Linked DNA regions of Homo sapiens: all the other regions are linked to region 1. The links are contacts of gene promoters, found by promoter capture Hi-C in blood cells and fetal thymus (Javierre and others, 2016). All regions are on one chromosome and are shown on one strand. The core of a region is centred on a gene start or on the middle of the fragment in contact, and the rest is flanking DNA. Distances in the headings are between cores, read along the strand shown. Region 1 holds the start of ZYG11B (zyg-11 family member B, cell cycle regulator). Region 2 holds the start of KTI12 (KTI12 chromatin associated homolog). Region 3 overlaps ZFYVE9 (zinc finger FYVE-type containing 9).

Evidence for each region. Contacts are between HindIII fragments. The CHiCAGO score rates a contact against its expected background, and 5 or more counts as called.
Region 2: the fragment with the promoter of KTI12 here is called in contact with the fragment with the promoter of ZYG11B in region 1 in 5 of 17 cell types (fetal thymus, total CD8 T cells, activated CD4 T cells and 2 more); the score reaches 8.1 in fetal thymus.
Region 3: a fragment that was not itself captured here is called in contact with the fragment with the promoter of ZYG11B in region 1 in 2 of 17 cell types (total CD8 T cells and total CD4 T cells); the score reaches 6.4 in total CD8 T cells.

What each region holds. Positions count from the first base shown.
Region 1 is chr1:52,724,610-52,728,613 of GRCh38, forward strand. ZYG11B (zyg-11 family member B, cell cycle regulator) reads left to right here and starts at 1,844. Exons shown (of 14, transcript NM_024646.3): 1 at 1,844-2,074. The coding sequence starts at 2,045. RefSeq lists a silencer at 1,655-2,234. The HindIII fragment of the contact is 1,298 bases long and covers 1,661-2,958 here.
Region 2 is chr1:52,031,676-52,035,679 of GRCh38, forward strand. KTI12 (KTI12 chromatin associated homolog) reads right to left here and starts at 2,135. Exons shown (of 1, transcript NM_138417.3): 1 at 428-2,135. The coding sequence starts at 2,086. The coding sequence ends at 1,022. All of the region lies in intron 2 of TXNDC12 (thioredoxin domain containing 12), which reads right to left. RefSeq lists an enhancer at 1,842-2,141. The HindIII fragment of the contact is 2,616 bases long and covers 222-2,837 here.
Region 3 is chr1:52,144,539-52,148,542 of GRCh38, forward strand. All of the region lies in intron 1 of ZFYVE9 (zinc finger FYVE-type containing 9), which reads left to right. All of the region lies in intron 4 of LOC107984956 (collagen alpha-2(I) chain-like), which reads left to right. Among named protein-coding and RNA genes, the nearest start is that of ZFYVE9, 4.5 kb to the left of the region's middle. RefSeq lists an enhancer at 3,323-3,856. The HindIII fragment of the contact is 2,737 bases long and covers 844-3,580 here.

The DNA of each region.
Region 1 (4,004 bases), core at 594-3,093:
TTCAGCCCAGGAGTTTGAGGCTGAGTGAGCCGTGATTGTGCCACTGTACTCCTGATGGGTGACAGGGTAAGAACTTGTCTCAATAAATAAATAAATAAATAAATAAAAGAAAAAATAAAAAGTTCTGGAGCTTCTTGATGGGGATGGTTGCACAACAATGTGAATGTATTTAATACCATTGAACTGTACACTTTAAAATGGTTAAGCAGGTTTAAAAAATCTGGGCTTGCATTTTGGATGCTTGTTTTTAAATTTTAATTTTTTCTAGTAATTAATTTTGATTGTATTTTACAGAAATTTAGTTTTGTGATTGGGGATAAAATCTGGGTCTTTTAGCACAGATGCTTGAGAACTGAGGAGGATTTGATGTTAGCTAAAAGACAAATAATTAACTTGTAGTAAGGAAAGGAAGGCAGAGAGAGCATCAAAGCAGAGTTACAGGTTCGTTGGAAGTCATGGTGGGTGCTGGGAACTTGTAGATGTTCTTTTTGGTTTGTTTGATTTTCTTGTGAATTAGAAGCAAAATCATCAGCTAAATGAGATGAGGGAGGAAGTGTCGGAGGTTTGAAGAGACAGGAGACTTGAAATAGTTATGTAGCAAGGTGGGAGAGTGTGTGAAACTGGAGAAATGTGGTAGGGTAGCCACTCATTATGGCCTCTTGAGAATAATGATCTCAAATTTACGGGGAGTCAGTCAACCACTTTTGGCTTTTTCTCCACCCACTCCATTGCTGGAGTTCTGTCAGTACAAAGAAAGCAGAGAACGACTAGAGAAATGAAGGTAATACTGAAGAAATCGACTTCATGTACCTCATGTACTCACTTTCTTCCCCAAACAGCTTAGATTCTATTAGATTCCATTTCATGACGGACGATAGAATCTAAGCTGTTTCAGGAAGAAAGTGAGTACATAAGGCCAGCGTGGGGAGGAATAGCGAAAAGGTAGTTGGATCAATGGATTTGGGGTCTTGGAGTTGAAGTTTTTGGAGTTGGAGTATTATCAGACAGAGTGAGCTAGAAAGGAAGAAGGTTGTGGCCGGGCGCAGCGGCTCACGCCTGTAATCCCAGCACTTTGGAAGGCCAAGGCAAGCGGATCACCTGAGGTCAGGAGTTCGAGACCAGCCTGGCCAACATGGTGAAGCCACTTCTCTACTAAAAATACAAAAATTAGCCGGGTGTGGTGCCGGGTGTTTGTAATCCCAGCTACTCGGGAGGCTAAGGCAGGAGAATCACTTGAACCCGGGAGGTGGAGGTTGCAGTGAGCCAAGATCGCACCACTGCACTCCAGCCTGGGCAACAAGAGCGAAACTCCATCTCAAAAAAAAAAAAAAAAAAGAAAGAAAGAAAGAAAGAAAGAAAGGAAGAAGGTTGCAATGGGAGTTAGAGGATTAAAATTGAGATTGTAGAGAAGTTACAATTATTCGTATGAGCATGAGAGTGAGAGGCTGAGCCAAGAATGATCCCTAGAGAAGAATCTGAGAGGCCAGAGGATTGGAAGAATTAAGCGAATTTTGAAATAACCAAGAGTTATGACAATAGTAGTAATGAATGACAGTGAACCAGAAGCCCAAATCTTAGAGAATGATGGTGAATGACAGAGGAGTCTATAGGTGACCGAAGTGAGCGATGCTCTAATCTCTCGTCATGATGTAATATTTAAAGCTTTTCATATTTTGAAGGGATGCTAGGATTTGGGGGTGTGTGGCTCCTTTAAGGGCCTGGGAGGGGGAGAAGCTGGAGGTCGGGCTGGGGGGGGCGGGACCCCCTCGTCTGAGTCTGCGCATTGAGAGCGGAGGCGGGTCCAGGCGCGGGCTCGCGCGCCCGGGCGGGTCCTCGCGGGGGCGGAGTCTGCGCTCTGGTTCGGGCTGCGGCTGCGGCTGCGGCTGCGGCTGCTACTGCTACGCTCCTAGCTTGAGGGAAAGAGGCCGAGGCCTGGGCCAAGCCCGGAGCCGCCGCTCGCCGGAGCCTCCTGGAGCCTCCGCGCCGGCTCAGCCTGGGGGCGGGCTCCGGTCCGGCCCGCCGCCGCACCCAGGACGGAGGCTGCATGCCCGAGGACCAGGCCGGCGCAGCCATGGTGAGGGAGCAAGGCCTGCCCTAGCCGCAGCCGCCCGCCACCCTAGCCCCCGCCCGTCGCGCTGGCCCCTGCGGTCTTGCCCCTCCCTGTCTCTGGTGTCCCCTCGGGCTCCCTGCCTTTACCTCTCTCCCTCGTTACCGCCCCCTCGGTGTTCAGCTCCTCCTTCCCCATTCACCTGCTTCGGTGAACCCCTTTAGGTGACACCCCCTGAATCTCCCTTCTCCCCGATGACATCCTTTTTATCACCCCCAGTGACAGCCTTTTTCGCATTCCCTTTGTCGCCCACTCCTTGTCCTTTAACCCTAACCCTTCCTTTCTTTCTCCTCTATCATTTTGCCTTTTTTCCTCTTATGTGATTTTTACTTTCCCCCCTTTCCTCCCTAGTTTTCGCTGCTCTTCCTTGCTCTTCTCACCCCTCTTCACCATTTTATCTCCACTGCCCCCTTCTCTCCGTGTTCCTTCTCCCCTTCGTCCTCTTCCATCCACGTTTCCTCTTCCCTTATCGGATGTCCTCGCTCGGTTCGCCGTCGCAGCTGTCCCCATTTCCTTCTACGGGCTTCAGGGGTCTAAGCAGGAACAATTTGAGGACTGTTGCTTCCCGGGAGCTGTAGGGCGGGCAGATAGGGATTTATAGGTTTGCTTCTTCCTTTTCGTTTTTGGAGGCATTGAAGAGATCCTGGAAGCCTATTCACCTAGTGTCATTGCAAAATCGAAGTGGTGGTGTGTTACAGAGCAGTGAAGTGAGGGCCAGCATGCATACTGTGACCTCAGGAGAGATCTAGTCTTTTGACAGAAATAGCTAAAAAATGTTTTGAATTTTTTTTATTTTGAGCATCTTTTAATGTGGAGGTGCAGTTGGAGAAGTTTAAAAATACTTATTTACAAGCTTGGCTATTATTACTAAAAACAAATGATTTGTTTTCATTTGGAGGCAGAGACCAAGGGCATTTGAGGACTGACAATCAGGTTGGCAGGTTGTGACAGTCTCTTTAAACCTTCTAAAGAGTTCATTTGTTTTGCCCTGTCTGCCTTTAGTTGGGAGAACCTTATATTTGCAAATTTTCTTTCTGTCTGAAAATAGGTTGAGGCTTCAGTTGGTTTTTTCATTGAGTTGGGTTATAAGTGGTTTGCTGTACATTTATTGAAAACATTGCTCCATCATATGCAACAAGCTAAATTTTGGTCTCTGGGAGGAATAAGGCAAAACTAAGTCCTGATAATTATGTTCCCCTAGGAGGTTAGTCAGTTTCTTTTTTTCCCTCCAGCAGTTTTTTAGAAAAGTAATATACTATAAAATTATTTAATCTATGAATTTTCCCTAACTCACTCCTGCATTTTTAGTCTGTCATTTTCCTGTGTTTGTCTCCTTCACTTTCACACACTGTTGTTGTATGCTAACCTGTTTCTCCCTGTGGAATGTAAGTTCTAGGTAGCAACCGTTCCTTACTTATTATTCCAAGTGCCCAGGCCAGCTAGGTGCTTGAATGATTCACTTTATGGTCTCATTTCCCACCTGACTAATATAAACTTAAACTGAAATTTGAGGTAACTAGTGGACTACACAGAAAGAGTGAGTTTGAGAATTGTTGTTTGGAGACGATCTTGCTCTGTGGCCCAGGCTGGAATGCAGTGGCACAATCATGGCTCTTTGCAACCTTGAACTCCTGAGGTCAAGTGATCTTCCCACCTCAGCCTCACAAGTAGCTGGTACCACAGGCACGGACTACCGTGCCCCGCTAATTTGTAAAACTTTTTGTAGAAATGGAGTCTTGCTGTGTTGCCCAGTCTGGTCTTGACCTCCTGGATTCAAGCCATCCTCCCACCTTGGCCTCCCAAAGTGCTAGAATTACAGGCATGAGCCATCACGCCTGGGCAGAGAATCTTAATTTTGATGCAAAAATGATATTGAGTGAGGTATGATGATATACTT
Region 2 (4,004 bases), core at 885-3,384, 690 kb before region 1:
AGACGAGGTTTTGCCACGTTGGCCAGGCTGGTCTCGAACTCCTGACCTCGATTTTGGACTCCCAAAGTGCTGGGATTACAAGTATGAGCCACCACACCCGGCTTCTCACCACATATCTCAAGAGCAAAAACACTGTATCTAATTGGTCTTTGAAAATCACAGCCACTGTTAAAGTAGGTACCTACCATTTGTTCAATGAAATCAATGAAGAATGAAAGACAAGCTTACAATGATATTTGCCTTGAAATGCAGAATGAAGCAAAACAGTTACGGAAATTGTCATAATATAATTACTGTAGAGTAGCTCAAAACATCTACTCTCTCAGAACTATCAAAATACTACTTCACTTAAAGGCAGAACAATGACAAGTATACCTAAAATGTTACATGAAGTTACACAGGGAACATTAAGTGAAAGAGATTCCAGTAGACTATTTTAAAAGATTTTATTAGAGGAAATAATCTAGTAGATAACTTTCTTACTTCCACAAAAACAAAGTTTCTCAAGGATACAAACCAATGGATTTATCTGTGAACTCGGTCCCAGAATAGAAACTAGCAAAAAGTCAGTACAGTACTCAAAAAATACTTTTGTGGTATGAAAAAAGGGCAGGTGCAGATGTAGAACTGTACCATCTTCAGTTTCTGTTCACAATTGTTTTAAAACAATTCTCATCTATCCAGTCTGCTCTCCCACGCCTCAGATGAGGGAAGCCAATGGTCAATGCTCTGTGATAGCCCAAGTAGGATCCAATCTAGGTAATCCCTGTCCACCTTAGCTCTGTCCTCTGAGGGATTTGCCAGGTTGCACCACAATAGTTCTCCATTCTCTTTAGTCTGAACTTATGCTGTAAACCCAAGGCCTGGCACAGGGGTATGCAGGAAAGTTTGAGTGAATCAGTCACAACAGCTCTAGTACAGTACTGCATCGATATGCTCTGGAGACCTGCAGCCTATTTTTCCCAGAGAAATAAAGTGGAGTGGAGATCAGAAGCCATGGCTTCCCCCCTACCTCCTCTGGTCAGTGCAGGCTCTGGCTCAAATACTGAAGAAACATGTTGGCCAGTTGCGGCAAGTTCTCATTGTTGGGATGCATTTTAGTGTACGAAATAAACTGGCGACGAAGGCGACTCAGTTCTGCCATGGTCAAGGGCCGGGTAAACCGCAAGTGCTCTGTGGTACCAGGAAGCGTGAGCAAGTCCCCGGGGACAGCGCTCTTCTGCGCTTCCATCAATCCGGCCAGTACTTGACTCGTGACCTGGTCCAACTGGTGCAGAAAGCTGCCGGAGGCGAGGGGCTGGGACTGCGTAGACTGATGGGGTGGTGGGGCCCGGTTCTCAAACAGGGCAGAGCGGATCCCCGCCAGGGGCAACGGCTCCTCTAGGCCCACCAAAGTGAATAAAGGCCGGTCCCAGCGATTCCGAGAATCGGGAGCCTCAAAGCGCAGCGTTAGGGCCTCCAGGAGTTCGGGAGAGTAAAAGGCACCGGACCCATGCTTTGCAGATTTCTCTGAATCCGGAGTCACAAGAGCTGGAGACTCCGCAGCCCCGGATTCTTCTCGCTCCAGTTCCTTGGGTACGTCGGCCTGGGCACTTCCATTTACTACAGAGTCCGCAGTATGCAGTTCCCTGAGGACGCTGCTGCCCGCCGCCTGGGCTCTCCCGTCCTCCTCAGCGCGTGGCCGCCAACTCACACTGACGTTCCGGCCAGGGTTCTCGTTCGCGCCCGCCACCTGAGGTCCCGCGATCGGGCCGCCGGGCCGTACGCAGTAGACCAGGCAGAGCGGGGTGCGCGCCGCCCGTGCCAGGCAGTAGAGCTCGTAACGGAAACCTTTGATGTAGTTAAGCGAGTCCAGGATGACCACGTCGTGGCGACTCAGGCGCCGTTCCACGGAGGCTCGCAGAGCTCCACGCAATGCCTTCTCACGGGCAGAATCGCCGTACACCGCTGGGTCCTCTGCGCCCAGGACAGCTGCGTCGTCCACCACGTACACCGCGCGGCCCTCGGCAGCCAGCGCCACGCGCAACTCTTCAGCACGCCGGCTCTTGCCGCTGTACGGCAGCCCGCAAAACACCACGAGCGGCATCCTCTCAGGGAGCGACCATTGGCAACCGCGCTGCGCCAACTTCCGGGTTGTACGCGTCTCCGACGTAAGCCGGAAGTGCAAACTGCTCTTCCTGTCTCCCTTGACTTTTACAGACCCTCTTGTTTCTATGGAAACAGGAGTTCTACGCCAGCTAGGCCCAGGTTCAGCTTTCTCAGAAAGGAGATACAGAGACTATAATGGCATCAGTTATTTATGCCAAATGTTATAGGCCTCAGGAGAATGTGATCTTCCTGCAGCGAAAGACTGCCCGTCCATTTTATTAATAAGGCCTAAGGGGCATTAAATATTGTAAGCAATCAGCACTATATTTAGCATATAGAAGGCAATTAATAAATGCTGGTTCTCCTTCATTCCTCCTCTTAAACCTACTGGCTCTCAGTAAATGTTTATTCAATTACCATTTCAATCATTCAACATCTCCAAGGTTGGGAATTCAGAGATGAACATAAAACGCTTTCCCCACAAAAGATAAAAGGTCTGAATGGGAAGGATCAGGCGCCTACAATCAGAGTAATAAATACTATAATGGATAGATGCAGGTGAGGTTATAAAAGAACAGAAGGGAAAAACAAACTACCCAGAGAAATCACTGAAGACTTTATGTAGAAATAGTCATTTGACTTAGAACTTGAAAGACAAATAGGAATTTTTCTCCTTAGTAGGGTTGCCAGATAAAATACAGGATGCCCAGTTACATTTGAATTTCAGATAAACACCAAAAACATTTTTAAGCTTAAGTGTGTCCCAAATATTGCATAGACATATTTAAAATTATTTGGTGCTTATCTAAACTTCAAATTTAACTGGGCATCTTTAATTTATTATTATTATTTATTTTTTCTTTTTTAGAGATGAGGTTGTATGTTGCTAAGGCTGGTCTCAAACTCCTGGGCTCAAGTAATTGTGCCACCTCTGCCTCCCAAAGTACTGGGAATACAGGTGTGTGAGCCAAGGTGCCTGGCCTGCATCCTTTATTTTATTTTATTATTATTATTTTTTGAGATGGAGCCTCGCTCTGTCACCCAGCCTGGACCACAGTGGTATGATCTCAGCTCCCTGCAACCTCCACCTCCTGAGTTCAAGCGATTCTCCTGTCTCAGCCTCCCAAGTAGCTGGGACTATGGGTGTGCGCCACCATATCTGGCTAATTTTTGTATTTTTAGTAGAGACGGGGTTTCACTATGTTGGCCAGGCTGGTCTCAAACTCCTGACCCCAGGTGATCCACTGGCCTTGGCTTCCCAAAGTGCTGGGGTTAAAGGCATGAGCCACTGTGCCTGGCCATCCGTTATTTTTATTTGCTCAATCTGGCAACTCTATTATTGTAGGTTTGAGACCCAGAGCCATGAAACTGTTGGATCTCTTGTATAAACAGCAAGCACTATAGGATGGTAGGTGCAGAAATGTGAGTGTGCCTGTGCATGTGTGTATATTGTAGATGCACATATACTGGGGTCTTTGTATCTCTCTTGTACAGTATAGTAAAAAACATTCAAGTCTTGGCTCCTCCACTTACTAGTGTTGTAACTACTGGCAAATTATGTAACTTTTCTGTACTTCAATTTCCCCTTCTATAAAATAACAACTGCTATTTCACAGGTTTACCAATCTGTAGGTTGTTGTGAGGGTTAAATAAATGTAAACACAGGCCCGGCATGGTGGCTCGCGCCTGTAATCCCAGCACTTTGGGAGGCAGAGGGTAGATCACCTGAGGTCAGGAGCTCGAGACCAGTCTGGCCAACATGGTGAAACCCTGTCTCTACTAAAAATACTTTTTAAAAAATTAGTCGGGTGGGGTAGCGTGTGCCTGTAATCCCATTACTGAGGAGGCTGAGGCAGGAGAATTGCTTGAACCCGGGATGCGGAGGTTGCAGTGAGCCTAGATCGCACCACTGCACT
Region 3 (4,004 bases), core at 962-3,461, 580 kb before region 1:
AGTTTAAAATTAACTAACCTTGCTGAGCCGAAGGAAGGTGTCTATTTTCTAGCAAAACTATAAGTCTTTAGTGGCAATAGTCATTTCTTTCTTTTTTTTTTTTTTTTACTTCCTTGCAGCTCCAGCTCAAAGGATGTCATTTTTCGTAGTAAATAATCTTAGAAAGAAAAGTGATATTTTGAGGGACAGCTGATCCAATCAGCAACCATTTATTGAGAGCCTCCTGTGATAGCTGTGGTGTGCTAAAAGAATACCTTGTCATTTACTTTGGCACTTAATGGACACCAATGTCATTGTCTGTAAAATGCATATACTTCAGTTATTATGCTTACCTTGCGAGGCTTTTAGGATAAATAAATCTGAAAAGGTATTATAATCTGTAAAAGATTTTTATACAATTTTGGCTTTTAAGTGCCAGGTCCTGTTATAGGTATTCCAGGAAACACAAAAATGACCAAGGGCTCTACTAAACTTGTCCTGTGGAAGCAGGATACCTTTAATTAACTGTTACAAGGTAGGTCAGACAAGTGTTGAAATTGAGTGGAACGTGCTAAATCTCTGTTTAAGGCTTCTGTGTCTCATCTTGCCGTTTAAGGACATTGATAATACTTTTTATGTATGATTATTCCTTTCTCTTCCAATTCCTGATTCAGTGTTTTCTTTAAGGAAATAATTGCTTATATTGCCTGGTGATAGTTTCCTATTAACTCTTTTAGAAAGGTAGAGTGAGTAGAGATGATAATTCCTTCCTCTGTTGCTAAGCTACCACTGTTCATTCCATTCAGTAAACTTTTATGTGGCACCTTGTAAACGTGCTAGCCACAGACTGGTTGCAAGGCACAAAGCTTGTTTAAAAGATAATTGCCTGGATTTTAGCTTAAGTTCTTATGTTCCTAAAGATATGGCGTATATATGTGTGTTTTATGGTTGTTAATTGCATAATGTGGTACAGAGTATGGAGTCAGATGTGAGCAGGAATCCTTACTACACCTCTTAAAGCGATGTGACATTTAGATTCTGAGTTTCTTATGTACTATTGGGGTAACACTACCCCTCCTAGCAAAGTAGAACAGGTTCCATGAGATAAAAGTAACCGAAAGCAATTAGCTCAGTGTTTGTCATGTAGGAGGTGCTCAATAAATGTACATTTCTTTCTTCCTTTTGGGAAAAACAAAAATCAGGCATTGGGATTTCTGCATGACTTAAAACTTGGTTGCTTTATTTTTTTTAGACTAAGTCTACTTTTGGGATTTGGAATTTTTTATGGAAAACAATTTCGATTTTAGTATGTTTTCCATTTCATTTTTAGCCAATAAATTAGTATTCCCTTTATATAGGGTACACTTGTTGCAAATTATTTATTTTCAGAGTTTTACATTGATCTTTAATTTTACTTGTGTATACTTGACCTGCATTATATAGAGCAACATTCTTAGTACAGTCAGATCTCTGTATCTGTGGGTCCTCCCAGCCAAGGCTCAAAAATATCCACACACACACACACACACACACACACACAAAAGTAATCATACAATAATAAAAATAATACAAATAAAAACCCAATACAGTATAACAGTTGATTTGCATAGCACTTACAATTGTATTTGGCATTGTAAGTAGTCTAGAGATTATTTAAAGTATACAGGAGGATGTTCATAGGTTATATGCAAATACTGTGCCATTTTATATAAGGGATTTGAGCATCCACAGATTGTGGTATCCTGTGGGTTCCTGGAACCAGTCCTCCACAGATACAGAGAGACAACTGTATATAATAATCATTGGAAAAGATGTAGTTGCAGGCACTGAATAGAAATAGTTCATATATTTAGTTTTCAAAAAACTCTCAATTTATTAAATTTACTTAAGAACTGTTTTCAGAACATAGATTTTTCCTTATAAACTACAGTAGGCTAGAACTAGATTTTATAGCCTGCCAGTCTTTTCTTATAACCTTGGACAAGTTTGTTACCCTCTTTAAGTCTCAATTTTCTTTTCTATAAAATGCAACTGATAATAGTCACCTTACAGGATTATTGTAAGTATTAAATGATATAATGGGTAAATCAGAGCTATAGTTCAGTCCCATGAGTCCTGGTAAATCCGGACTCTGGAATTGGAAAATATATTTCTCTGAGTTTTGAAAAAAAGAGGTTGAAAGATTGTTAATTATTTATGTAGTTTACTATTAATAAGTAAAATCAGCATAATCTAATTTTGAAGTATTAGAGATTGCTAAATTAAGGAGGAACCAAGGTGTCAGTAGAATTAGCATTTAGTTATGTAGTAGAATACCTTATATTTTATAATGGTAAAATTTATTTAATAAAATAATTTGAAAAGTGCTGTTTTTACAGGTTGAGCATCCCTAATCCAAAAGTCTGAAATTCGAAATGCTCAAAGGTCCAAAACTTTTTGAGCACTGACATGATCTCACAAGTGGAAAAATTCCACGCCTGATCTCATGTGATGGGTCACAATCAAAATGGTCAAAACTTTGTTTCATGTACAAAATTATTAAAAATAGTGTATAAAGTTACCTTTAGGCTATGCGTATAAGTATACATGAAACAAATGAATTTTGTGTTTAGACTTGCGTCAGAATTCTAATCTGTCCCAAATGCTTCTGGTTCCAAGTATTTTAGATAAGGGATACTCAACGCATAAAGTATTTTCTATTTTACAAATTAATTAATACTTATATTTTTCTTTTAAATTATGGTAAATAGCCCATTTACGGAACTGGAAAAGTTAGAACAGTATTATATATTCACAGAGTTGTGCAAACATCACTGCTGTCTAATTTTAGAACATTTTAATCACTCCAAAGAGAAACTTGTACCCATTAACAGTCACTCCCAGGATCTCCCTAATCCTCCCAGCCCTAGGCAACCGCTAATGTACTTTCTGCCTCTATGGATTTGCCTATCGAGACATTTCATGTAAGTGGAATCATACGATATATGACTGGTTTCTCTTACTTAGCATAATAGTTTTAGGGTTCAGTAGCAAGTGTCAGTACTTCATTTCTTTTTATTGCTGAATAATATTCCATTGTATGGAAATACCACATTTTATTCATCAGTTAGGGCTGTTTCCACTTTTTGGCTACTATAAATAATGTTGTTGTGAACATTCATGTGCAAATTATTGTGTGGAAATATGCTTTCATTTCTCTTGGGTATTTATAGGGATGGAATTGCTGGGCCAAATGGTAGCTGTATGTTTAACCTTTCGAGAAACTATCAGATTGTTTTTACAAAGTAGCTGCACCTTTTTACAATCCCACCTGCGTTGTATGAAGGTTCCAATTTCTTCACGTCCTCACCAACACTTGTTATCTGTTTTTTTGATTATAACCATCCTAATGAGTGTGAAGTGGTAATGTAAGGCTCTATCTGCGGTTCATAACTTTTTTTTTTTCAATAGAGGCGAGGTTTCATTATGTTGGCTAGGCTGGTCTGGAGCTACTAACCTCAAATGATCCACCCACAGCCTCCCAAAGTGCTGGGATTACAGGCATGAGCCACCATGCTCCTGGTTAATAACTTTTATTTACAGTCATTAGGTAAATTGTTGAAGCTTTTACTTGCAGATGCATTGCCAGATTCTTTGATGATAGGGAATGTTTTTGGCCTGAGGATAAAAGTTGTAGGCCAGGCGCTGTGGCTCACGCCTGTAATCCCAGCACTTTGGGAGGCTGAGGTGGGCCGATCGCCTGAGGTCAGGAGTTCGAGACCAGCCTGGCCAATATGGTGAAACTCTGTCTCTCCTGAAAATACAAGCCTTTCGGTTCAAAATCACCACTATATGGTGGCAGATACCTGTAATCCCAGCTACTTGGGAGGCTGAGACAGGAGAATTGCTTGAACCAGGGAGGCGGAGGTTGCAGTGAGCCAAGACTGCACCATTGCACTCCAGCCTGGGCAAGAAGAGCGAAACTCCATCTCAAAAACAAAAAAAGCTGTAAACTTTCTAGTTTCCTGTTTAGTAAACAGTGAACT